Regions from separate parts of the Homo sapiens genome. Here region 1 is linked to region 2. Evidence: promoter capture Hi-C in 16 types of primary human blood cells and fetal thymus (Javierre and others, 2016). All regions are on one chromosome and are shown on one strand. Each heading gives the region's core, a stretch centred on a gene start or on the middle of the fragment in contact. The rest is flanking DNA. Distances are from core to core; before and after follow the strand shown. Region 1 overlaps ZNF892 (zinc finger protein 892). Region 2 holds the start of MAL (mal, T cell differentiation protein (MAL blood group)).

The links. The method cuts DNA at HindIII sites, captures the fragments that hold promoters and counts their contacts. A CHiCAGO score of 5 or more calls a contact.
Region 1: a contact is called between a fragment that was not itself captured here and the fragment with the promoter of MAL in region 2, in 4 of 17 cell types (activated CD4 T cells, naive CD8 T cells, naive CD4 T cells and 1 more). The highest score is 8.6, in activated CD4 T cells.

What each region holds. Positions count from the first base shown.
Region 1 is chr2:95,209,723-95,215,776 of GRCh38, reverse strand. ZNF892 (zinc finger protein 892) reads right to left here. Exons shown (of 5, transcript NM_001395961.1): 3 at 4,057-4,159; 4 at 3,495-3,584; 5 at 1-1,441. The coding sequence ends at 174. Among named protein-coding and RNA genes, the nearest start is that of ZNF892, 5.2 kb to the right of the region's middle. The HindIII fragment of the contact is 690 bases long and covers 2,357-3,046 here.
Region 2 is chr2:95,021,241-95,027,443 of GRCh38, reverse strand. It overlaps MAL (mal, T cell differentiation protein (MAL blood group)), which reads right to left and starts at 1,736. Exons shown (of 4, transcript NM_002371.4): 1 at 1,559-1,736. The coding sequence starts at 1,651. It overlaps MAL-AS1 (MAL antisense RNA 1), which reads left to right and starts at 415. Exons shown (of 8, transcript XR_007087136.1): 1 at 415-885; 2 at 1,011-1,104; 3 at 3,187-3,249; 4 at 4,101-4,227. RefSeq lists enhancers at 629-1,352, 4,859-5,359 and a silencer at 1,707-1,836. The HindIII fragment of the contact is 7,953 bases long and covers 1-6,194 here.

The DNA of each region.
Region 1 (6,054 bases), core at 1,452-3,951, 190 kb before region 2:
TTTTAAAAATGTAAAACTATACTTTCACAGTCTAATCATGTTACCTCCCACATCAGCAATGACTTGTCAATAACTTTTTTGCAACACAGTCTTAAATTTCTTTGTAGACCCCCACAGCAAGTATGGTAAATGCTCAATAACTATGCTCTGAATGTACCACATTTACATAGTCTTTATCCAGTATGAATTCTCTTGTGTTGGCCAAAGGTTAAATGCTCACTAAGAGCTTGGACATATTTCTTGGTTTTCACTCCAGCATGAGTTTTCTGATGTTGAGAGAGGGATGAACTCTGGCTAAAGGCTTTTCCACATTCCTTACACTTGTAGGGCTTTTCTCCAGTGTGAGTTTTCTGATGCTTTGTAAGAGATGAGCTCTGGCTGAATGCTTTTCCACAATCTTTACATTTGTAAGGTTTCTCTCCAGTGTGTGTTCTCTGATGACGAATAAGGGCTGAGCGGTCACTGAAGGCTTTGGCACAATCATTGCATTTATAGGGTTTCTCCCCAGTGTGAGTCCTCTGGTGCTGAGTCAGGGCTGAGCAGTAGCCAAAGGCTTTCCCACATTCGTTACACTCATATGGCCGCTCCCCAGTATGAGTTCTCTGGTGCTGGATAAGACCTGACCGATCACTAAAGGCTTTGCCACATTCGTTACACTTATAAGGTTTCTCTCCAGTGTGAATGACCTGATGCTGGGTAAGGAATGTGCTTTGGCTGAAGGCCTTCCCACATTCATTACACTCATAAGGTTTCTCTCCAGTATGAATTCGCTGATGTTGAGTGAGGTATGAACTCTGATTAAAGGCCTTCCCGCATTCATTGCATTCATAGGGTTTTTCTCCAGTATGAATTATATGATGCCGAATAAGGGCTGAGCGGTGACTGAAGGCTTTCCCACACTCATGACATTCATAGGGTTTCTCCCCAGTATGAATTCTCTGGTGCAGAGTAAGGTGTATGCTCTGGCTAAAGGCTTTACCACATTCGTTACATTCATAGGGTTTTTCTCCTGTGTGAATTCTCTGATGCAAGACAAAAGCTGAGTAGTAACTGAAGGCTTTCTCGCATTCATTGCATTTCCAAGGTTTCTTTCCTGCACAAATTCTCTCATGCCTAATTATATCTGAATTTTGTTTTAAGTTATTTTTAAATGAATCACAATGATGTAGTCTCTCTCCTTGCTGCTGAACAAGTAAGGACCTCTGAGTGCAATTTCTTCTAAATTCATCAGATTGGTAGCTTCTCTCCCTAGAAGATTTCTCAGTGACAGCCTCTTGTATTAAATGTTTCTCATGGTTTTCCTGCTGACTCTCTAAAGAATCCTCACATTCACTAGAACTTTCCTTTGAAAATCTTACAATTAACACCCCAGGAGCCGATTCTTCTTCAGAAATATCCTTCTCTGGAGTTAGCTCCTTGCTTTCTGGTATTGTTTCCCAGTCTGAAATAAGCAAAAACACACATGTGTATCATTTCCTACACTGAGAGAAAAATAACTGCTGTGGTAGGAAATTAATGAAACATGTTTGTTTCATTCTTTGTTAGGAATATTTACAGGGAACACATGAACTTGAAAGCTCTCAAAAATAGTCTTGCAATCTTGAGAGAACACAAGAAAAAAAAGATGACTGGACAAAGAAGTACGACGGCATAAAAGGAGTGTGTGTGCAGGTACTCAACATTCCTCTATGCAGCAGGATAGGAAATAACAAAAAATAACAGAATGAGACTAAGAAGAGGTGATATGGAGAAATAGCAGATTTTTTTAAAAAAGGATCTAGAGGAGATAGATCCTTTAGAGGAGATAGGATCAGAGAAAGATGGTCTTCCAAAGACTCACTGTACCCATCTGACCAGAGCCTTATCATTTCATGCCTCAAGAATGACCATCTTTAGCTAATCTCCTTGCCACCAATCTTTTCCTACTCCAATATGTCCCAACCACTGCTAAAAGACTAATTGCTCAAAACCATCTCCCTTTCACAAAAATCTGTTGGTTCTACTGTCTCAAGATAAGACACAAATTCTAGAAGCTAGCATTCAACATAGTCCAGGTCTACAAACTCAAATGACCACAAAGCTTATTAATTGGAAAGCAACTAATCACCTCTGATTGCTTACCATCACCCTAGACCCAGCAAACTGGAAAGAGTAAAACAGAACCAAGAAGAAAGAAAAAAGAGAGAAAGGAAAGAAAGAGAAAAACAGCAGTGTGTTGGGAGGGGAAGGTCAAAACTCCATGTGTTCAGATGAGTCCCCAACCTCTCAAGATATCTACCCCAAGTTCCTGGGCTTCCTAGTAAGAATTTGAGGGGGAAAAGCTTCATTGCTAAAAATGTTTAAATACTTCCAAGCTTAAATGGTCTTTAACACCCATTCCAATCATGTCTCTACATGAAATAAATTAATACAATACAGTGTTCTCAACTAGATATATTCAGGGAAGTGCCTGGGATTTTAAAGGACAAATAGGTAGAATAGGTTAAAAGCAAATGGACATCCAGCTAAGGGGAGTGGAAAAAATTAAAGCCCCAAATGTTCATGAACACACAGTTAGTGGAGGATAGTGAGGGACTTGCCTATCTGATGTTAAGAGTTCAAGTTGAAGAACAGAGAAGGCAAAAAAGTTAGGCAGACTAACAACGGCTTTGAAAGCAGGTAGAGGAATACAGAGCTGGCAGAGTAAGCAACTCAATGGGGAATCTAGCAGTATTATGCTGCCTCAATTTTACAAGGGTAAGAGTAAAAGAAAGTATAATTAGCCAACAGTCTTTTGCAGTAATCCAGTTTGACAGAAGTAACAGGGTCAAATCCATAACATCTTTCAAAAAAGTTACTAGGACTTAATAGCTATCTTTGCTTAGCATATAGCCAGGTACTGTTTAAAACATTTCTCTTGGATTATTTCCTTTGATCACCACCAAAACAGTATAAGCTCTGTGCTATCATTATCCCCATTTTAATTTAAGTCACAGAGAACACAAGTCATTTGTTAAAGGTCACAAAGCTAATGAGTAGCTAAGATCAGCTTTAAACCAAGGAAGCTTAGTTCCAAAGTCTGCAGTCTTAACCATCATGCTATGCTGCCTCTGCTTAGACAGAGAAGGTGGCAAGGGAAAACCCAGAGATGAATTTACAGTCATTGATCTGAGACTCAAAAAAATGGCATCCAGCAAAGATAAAATAACACATGTAAAAAATCCTGCTTTAGAGCCTTGAACCCAAGCAAGTTATTAACAAACATTAAAATGTTGGTTTCATTTTACCTTATTTGGGAAAAAGAATTGGTTTGAAAGAGTAGAAAGTATTTACTTTCTAAAAAATCAAATTATAACTTTATAAACAGATAACCATCCACAGAGCTAGGATGTGGCATAGGGGTGAGACAGGGACTTCAACTTTTCCATGGGTCTAGCAAAATCTGGACAGGCTCCTCCTCCACAAGCATTTGCATTGACAATCTGGGTTTTACTTGCACTGTTTCCAACACTCACGCTTTTGACTGGCTGCCTTTGAGACTTCTCTCTCCAGCTCTTCCTCATGCTCCAACTGAGAGATTACATCAGGTGTGGAAATTGGAAGCCCTATTCATAGGGAAAGAAAAAGGAGTCTGGTGAAGACCTCAGTGTTCATTCCCTGGTCTTTAGGAACATGGTAAGAGAGGGAGAGAGTGAGGTCAGTTCTCCATTTCTTCCTCAACAGTGTTCACGAGGTAGGAAGATTGATAGGGGTTTGAGTCCCTTATCAATTTTACCTCCCCCTATTTAAAGAATAAGCATCCATTCTCTTAAGAGTTGTTTTCATTAGCACTTTGTCTCCACATCCTTGGTCAAGGAGTTGAGAAGAAGGATGCTACAAGTCCATAAAATAAAGGTGTTTATGTCTAATTCCAGGAGTGTTAAAACTATATCCAGAAACAAAAGGCAGAAATTGCCTGTCTCAGGCCCTACTAGAATTAAGAATCATTGAATATAAGGACCTTGGAGCTCCTAGGAACTGAGGAGGACAAGGTACCACACTGGGTAAATTCACAGGCATTGGGGGAGCCATCCTTACCCAGCAAGACCAGATTCCTAGGCTTCTCAGGCACATCTCCCTGAGGAGAGTTCAGCTGCCTCCACTGGGTGAGAGCCTCGGCCATATCCCTGATCATCAATTCCTGAAAAACCAAACACATTGGTGCTCACCAATGAGCCTCCTTACAGAGGCCTCTGAAGAGGAATAAAACTGACAGCACAGGAGGAGGAAGACAGAAAGGATAAAAAAAGGACAGACAACATGGCCTTGGCCACCCTTTCCAGTACTAAGATTCTCTGGTGAATATGTAGTCCACAGACTCACTCTCTGCCTCCAGGCAGCAGAAATGCATATTACCTGCAAGTAGGAAGGAAAGCACCTTCAATGTAAAACTTGAACGTATGAACTTTTTAGTTTATGTATCAATAAATTACAGAACTACAGAATTTGCTACTACTTATACAGGAAAAAGGAGAGAAAAATGTAATTATGAATTAAGTATTTTCCTTATGGTATAGTTTTTAAAACATATGGGGTTCAAGAAATTGAAGTATTTTTTCTCTAGTTTTCCTAAGAATGAAATCAGTCCCATATATATTAAAAATTAAGATGTTTCCTACACGTCACAGAATATAGACTTATTTGTAAAACAGTATCTGAAGCCCAAATGATTATGAAAGTTCCCAGAGTGTTCTTGTCATTTTTCACAACGACCCTGATCAATCTGCCCGCGTCCCCCAGTTGGTGGCATTCTTTCATCTGCTTGAAGTGTGTGTCCTATTCCCGTTAGCCCCTTTACACATCCTGCTTCCTATTCCTGAATATTCTGCCCTCTGCCCCATCCTTTCAGCAATGTGAATCCTTCTCTCCCTTCAGATCTCAGCTCAGGTGTTACTTCAAGGGAAGCCTTCCCTGACTCTCTAGTTAGAACACATGTTCCTTCCATTCCCTTGGGTTGCACACATAGAGGGGATCTTGTGGCTAACATAAGCTCCACAGGAGCAGAGGCCAGGTCTATTTTTGCTCACTGAAGCAGCCTAGTACTTGGCACAGAGCAGAAACTCTGTAAATATTTGTTGAATATTTGAATGAAAGAAAGGAAGGAAGGAACAAGAATTAATAGAAACAAGTTTAAATGGGGTGTTCTATAAACGTGTGCATGGGAACAGAAGTGGGGAGGAGAACAGAAGCCTATTAAACATTGAAAACACTGCAGGAGTATTTAGCCTAACCTTCATCTAGATGACAGACACAAAGTTTAGTTTGTTTACTAAAATACTGAAATAAGGGAGTAGGGCAGGTAATGCTCTTTTGAATCTGTTAGTGCTGATAAGACAAATGTCTAATAATTTTTCAAATTCTATTTTTAAAATTTCTATGCAACTACAATTTAACTTAGAGTAAAATAAACCATCCCTTGGGTTAGCAAATGAATCAGTTTTACCGCTCTTTAAACTACCACTTGGGCCAGAGCCCCTTGAATATATATACACACACATATATATACACATATATATATACATATATACACATATATATACATATATACACATATATACATATATACACATATACATATATACACATATATACATATATACACATATATACATATATACATGTATACACATATATACACACATATATACACACATATACACACATATATATACATATATACATATATATATGAATCGAACGGTTAATTTTGTTTATATTCAGCTTTCTAATGCATATTTCAGTCTTTCAAAAATGACTGGTAAAACAAAGCACATAATGACATAAAGTTAAAAGAACTACCTACTCTGAAAATCCTCTGCCCAAAATACACTCTTTAACACTTCAAGTAAGAAATCCCACACTTTTAAGTTTATGGCCCCTTAAGGTCATATGCCTCAGGAATGATCAGCACAAGTAATATAACATGCACCATCTTCGTTCTGTACAAACAATGCTAACACTAACAGACTAACAGGCAGTTGCTTTCAGACTTCAGTTCCCTAAGAAAACCTCAGTAATCAACTCACAGGCAGGCCA
Region 2 (6,203 bases), core at 487-2,986:
AAGTGACTTTCTAAGTCAGCTGAGAGAAGCGTTCTGGGCGAGGGGGAGTTGTTTCTTCTGGAAGCCCCGCTACCGGCAGGCCACAAAGCCACGCTGGAAGAGCAAGCTGCCAGTAGTAGATGGTTCCAAGGTTTCCCACGCCCCTGTAATTTCTGCAGCATTGGCGGGTTGGGTGGGAGTCTCCGGTCACCTTTCCCGCAGATCAGATCGCCCCGTCTAACTGGACTGTTCCTACTCTCAGGGGCACTCCTTCTTGTATGCTGAACTTCTAAAAGGAGGCCAGCGGGGGGCTGGCTCTCTGTAAACGGTGGGGCTGCGTTCATTGGCGTCCAGGGTTTCTTCTAAATGTAACTGCTTTGATTCCGCCTATCCCTAGGATTTCAAGTCACCGGTTCCACCCAGGTTTGGGTTCGACTGGACTTTCACCCTAAGTTCAATGGTAGCCCTGCTCCCAGGCCGCCGCAGCCCTCTTAGCCTCTGCCCGCAAGCCCTCTTTGGATGAACTGACCTGCTCCCTTTGGTATTCACACCCTCCCCCTCCAATCAGGCAATAACAACCTGGGGTCCAATTTTTAAACAGCCAGGCTCCGACATTTTCTTTCCCGCCCAACTCTCCACGCTGACACTTCTGAGGGTGGGGTGCCGGAAAAGGTGTCCCTCAGGCGGTGACGGACCGCACCCACAGGACATACAGGGCACACCCCTCCCAGGTGAAGGCCAGCGGCCCCCGGGGAGTTGAGGCTGAGGGAGGTCACTTCGGCTTCGCGACACCGTGAGCGCTTATCAGGAGTTCTCAGTAGGAAGCGCTTTCCTGCAGCCTCAGGCAGAGACCGTGCGTGCAAGGCGGGACCGACCGCAGGTGCAGAGGCCCCGGGCCTGCCCAAGGTCAGTCGAGGCGCGCGGATCGCTCTCGCCGCCACCCCCCACCCCCCACCCCCCATCTCCTCCACCCCCACCCCGCACACGGGGCAGAAGGACTGCGGCCAAGCAAACGATGGCCTCATTTCCAGATCGAATTGGTCGCAAATACGTTCCCTCGCCAGAAACTTTAAAAGGCCAGAAGAAAATAAACCGGATTCAGCTCCCTCTCATCTCCAAATCTCGGTTGGTAATACTAATGTTTCTCTTGCTGATTTTTTTTTCTTTTTTAACGAAACCTTCTCCCTTGTAAAAGCTGCGCACTTCTACCCAACCGCGCAAAGCGCGGCGGGAGCTTCGGTGGCGCTGCGCGCGTCAAGTGGGCCCCGCGCGCAGCTTTGGGACCAGCGAACCAAGAGCCGTCCCCCCCTGCCCCGCTGCCTACATCTGACCCCAGTTGGGAACCCAGTTTTTCCTCCATAGTCCTGTAGACTGTTCCCCTCATTCTGTTGGTCTAGAAGGGCACAAAGGACCGGAGGTGGGAGGGGACTTCCCTGGCTTAGTCCCCGCCCTGCGCCTGCTGCCCCGATGCTCCCAGAACCTGCGCAGCTAGCGGATCCCGTCCGACAGCTGTGCTGGGCGCCCGAGAGAGCGCACGGCTCAGCCCACCCCGTCCCTTCCCCGGCCAGGAGCCACTCACAAACTCAAAGATGAAGAGCAAGTCGGGCAAGGTGGTGAAGACCGAGAAGCCACTGGGCAGGGTGCTGCCCCCCGTCGCCGCTGCGGGGGCCATGACGGCGTGCTGGCGTCGGCCTTGGGACGGGACGAGCGCCGCTCAGACTCCGCGCAGACCTCTCGCTGGCTCCGCGGAGCCCAGTGGCCTGGGCGCCCCCGCGCGCGGGTTAAGAGCAGGGGAGCCCGGGGCAGAAGAGGGAGGAGCCCCGGCCGCCGCCCAACCCCGCCCCCCGCCCCACGCCCCGGGAGACCCGGCCCGAGCGCCGCGGGCACCGCCCTGAACCTCTTCGAGGCCCCGCTGCGGGCGTCCAGAGCTGGGGACTGTGGGTCTGACTCCTGCGTTCCAGCCGTGGGTGCCACCTCTTGCGGGAAGCAGGGCAAAACCACTTTGGTCAGGCGCTCCTCGTGCCTTTCTCCCTTCGTAGGTGACCAGCATCTCGTAAGAATGATAACCATCAGTAACCGGGACCCCAAACCTTCTCATCAAGGCACCTCTCGGGTCACCATTACTTTAACTTTGAATTTGGGTCTCCTTCATTTTTCCGCTGGATGCGTTAATGTGCGCGACCCACAGCTCCAGGCGGCGGTTTCCTGGCGGAACTGGACCACCGCCACAGGCTGGGGGTCTGCAGTGGGGGATGGGACCGGCCGCGGCCGCCGGCCCCTTCCGCGTCCACTGAGCCGGCGCTGGTTCGGCGCTGGGATCCTGCACCGGGCCTCTCTGCTTGGTGCTGCGCGTCTGCCTGAGAGTAGGAGGTTGCTCCCAGCTGTGCCGGCCCCAGCAGAAGGCTGCTGGTGGTGGTGCTGGGGCAGGTCGGCCTTGAATCCATGCGACAGGAAGGGACGTTACCAGAAGAGATTCATCGCTTTCTCTTGGTCTGGGCAGCCCGGGCCTTTTGAGGGTGGGACCGCTGCTACCCCCACCCCCAGGTTCTTTGCCTGCCTGTTGACTGCCGGTGTTTCATGTTTTGTTTCTCTGTTTCACTATTTTTTATTTTTTGCCTTAAAAAAAAAAGTATTACCATGCAGCAGTTGCCCATTTATTTTAATTTACTATTAATAGTGTGATTGCTGTGTTTCCTCCTACAAACACTGAAGCCTGAAATCCGCCCGAGTCCGGATTCTCGCCTGCCAAAAGGGAATTGGCCCCGCAACCTCCAGCTTAGACTCCCAACTCTTCTTTCTTTCCATTGGCAGCTGCTGCAGGCAGGACAAGGGGCTCCCCTTCTCTCCAGTGGGGCCTTCACCTCTCCCTGCTGCACAATTCTTCCTCCTTCCCAGTCCCTAGGGAGAGAAGTATATTCGTGGACGCATTTTCCAAAGCAAAAGTAGCACGCCCATCAGCTGGCCATTCTAAGTGCCTCTGGAAAGGGGCCAGGCATTTGAAATGAGAAAACCCCACTGTGCCTCTGTGAGCTGCCAGCCCGGACGGCTGCAACCAAGGTGCCATTGTGTCGGGTCCCCAGGGCAGCATCTCTCTGGACACAATGGGCTGTGGGACTTTAGGAGCCCAGGTCCTCATCCACCTTGGGCATCTCATAGCTCGTTAGTTGGACCTGCTGGCCTCTGAGAGGACATCTTCTTCCTCCCCAGGAGACCGTCCTGGGAACAAGCCTTAAAGCAAGGTGGCCACAGGAAGCCGCAGCCTGAAGAGAGGTGAGATGACCCTCAGGCAGTCCAGCGAAAGCTGCTTGGAGATTTCCTATCAGCACATACTAATTAAGAACAAGAAGATCCTATCAACTCCTAATAATGTCCTTACCTGGCCTGGAGGGCTTTTGTTTGTGGTTTGGTTTGGTGATTTCCTACTTATTTCAAGCCTTTGTTGCTAACTCATTCCTACTTGGGCCTGAGCCTTTGGGGAAAGCTCGCTCCCAGGGGCAACTCAGTGGAGCTCAGCAGTCCCAGCCCTCCTTTGATAAGGCAGAGGGGCAGCAATCTCTGAAAGAGGCTTCAGAGGATGAGGAAGGCAGCCCGGCCAGGGTCAAGGGGGTTTGTCCCTATCTCTGTGACCCCCTCCTCCCACCTGGAGTTCTCCGCTCGACGTTCATCTTCCTGACCAGACTCTACCCTCGGCAGGGCATCCTCCAGCCACCCCCATCTGCCCCTCTCCTTCCCCACCCTAGCATATGCTCAGCACCCAAGCAGAGCCCAGCCTCTGGTGAGTGCTCATTAAACCTTAGCCAATGGTGGATGACTCCAGCTTTGTCTGTGCTTGACCACCAGAGGAGGACATGGAAGTGCCCTGTTTGGATGTAAGAAGCACTGGTGAGGAGTGAGGCACTGGTAATAGAGAGACATTGGTAAATAGAGAGGCATTGGTGAGAGAGAGGCGTTGGTGAGACAGAGAGAGGCACTGGTGAGAGAGAGGCACTGGTGTGTGAGAGAGAGAGAGAGAGGCGTTGGTGAGAGGAGGCATTTGTAAAACAGAGGCATTGGTGAGAGAGAGAGACATTGGTAAGAGAGAGGCATTGGTAAGTAAAGATGGGCCTGTCTTCATTCCCCAGCACAGCTTCTGCAGGTGCTCTGGGCCACCTGCTGGTGAATGAGGTGGTTGATACTTATCAGAAGCCCAGGACCATATTTTGGTTTCCAGCAGGATATGAAAAAATAATTTCAGCCAATAATAACTCAGTGAGTATCCTTGGTCTTCCCAGTGGGTGTGAATAAGAGGGTGGGTCTGGGGCTTCTGTCAAATATTAATAACGTGGCCTTGGGTGGGTTTCCACAAAGTAGGAATTGGAAAGTTGCCATTGCAGAGCCAGCCTGGGGAAGGAAGAGGTTACCACCTCCAGTTTGTGTGTGTTCAGGGGGAGGGAGGAGATTGTGGGGAGAGGGACGTGTTCAGGGAAAGATTAATGGGCAGGAGTTGCCCATCCGTAACAGTAGGTGCATTGGTTTTTGAGGTAGGTAAGATGACTCCCATTTTACTGATGAGCTAACAGAGGCTCAGAAGTGTTAAGTAGCTGCCCAAGGGCACAGAGTTGCTGAGCACCTTGAACCTGAGTGACGCTGCACCTCTAAAGCTCCGAGCCCTCGATGAAAACCCTGCTCAAGATGGGCAATTGCCAGTCAAATGCCAGCTCCATGCAGACATCGGCAGCCTCCCAAATCCAGTCTTCATGGTCATCTCAGGTGTGGCCCCAGGCACCTGCCCTGGTGGACAGGGCTTGGGACCTTCACCTCTGGGAACACAAGGAAGTGGGGGTCATCATCCCCATTTATGGATGGCGAGGCCGGGTGCCGACATGAGTTCAGAGAGCTACCCTGAACGCGCACTTCCCCCTAGGGATTTTATTTTTCTCACAGACACAGTCACCCACAGCCCTGGGTTCCATAGAAGGCATGAAGCAGTGAGGGCACCTGCTGGCGGATGGGGGAATGGCAGCCACAGCTGCCATGGCGTCAGCGCAGGAGGGGAACCTGTTACTGAGGGCTTGCTGAGTCCCAGCACTGCCACAGGCACTTTGCCTGCATGGCTTCATTTAATCCCACAGAGGCTTGCTGGTGGGTGTCACCCAACATACAGGCTAGGAATGGGAGGTAATGTGCGCAGGCCACATGGCTGGTGACTAGGCCTCTTGATTCCAGCAGGCAGGCTCTGTGTCTACTGCACAAAATCCACAAACTGGAAAATCTGAAGTGGTGGCTGCTCACCAGGGCACTGTCCTTTGATGGGCCATGGGCTCCGTGTGCCCACTGCCTCCAGGGACAATGATCCGCATGTGCTCTTTTCCCCACCCTCTTGTAGGATCATGTTTTCTAGAACCAGGGAGATGTGGCACTCTGCCACTGTCCGACAAAGTCCTCATGATATTCTGAGCACAAAACAGGCTGGCATTGTCTGGGTGACTTGTGGATGGGGATGGAGGGTAGAGGGTGTGTGAGTAGGAAAGACAGAGTCCCTGCTCCCTAGGAGAGCTCTTTCCAAGAGGGACAGCACGTGAGGCTGAGAGGCACCTGGTCAGGGCCTGTGCTGGGCATGCTTTGTCCATGACTGCAGGCAAAGTGCTCAGAGACGGTGTCTTAGTCTGTTCGGGCTGCTGTAATAAACTACGGTAGACCAGGAGGCTTGTCAACAGCAGGAGCCTGTTTCTCACTGTTCTGGAGGCTGGAAATCCTAGATCAAGGTGTTGCAGATTCCGTGTCTGTTGAGGGTCCACTTTCTGGTTCACAGACGGCACCTTCTTGCTGTGTCTTCACAGGGTGGAGGAGGTGAAGGGTCTCTCTGGGGCCACTTTTCTAAGGACACTGATACCATTCATGAGGCCTCCATCTTTATGACCTAATCACCTCCCAAAGGCCTCAGCCCTGATACCATCATCTTGGGGGTTAGGATTTCAACATAGGAATTTGGGGAGGGGACACAGACATTCAGATCATAGTAGGTGGCACATGGACCAACTGTTCTAGAACAAAGTTGGGGTGGGGGCAGGCTGCACAGTGGGGCCCTGTTTCTGAGAACCTCTTGGGTGGTACCCCTGTGCCCGCTCTGCAGATGTAACAGTAAACTCAGTAGAGCCTCCTGCCTCCAGCCCAAGTTCAGTAAGCGCTGGGTGATGGGGTTGCCATGGAGGAGGGGCCCCTGCCTCTTTGAAGCTTATTATGAG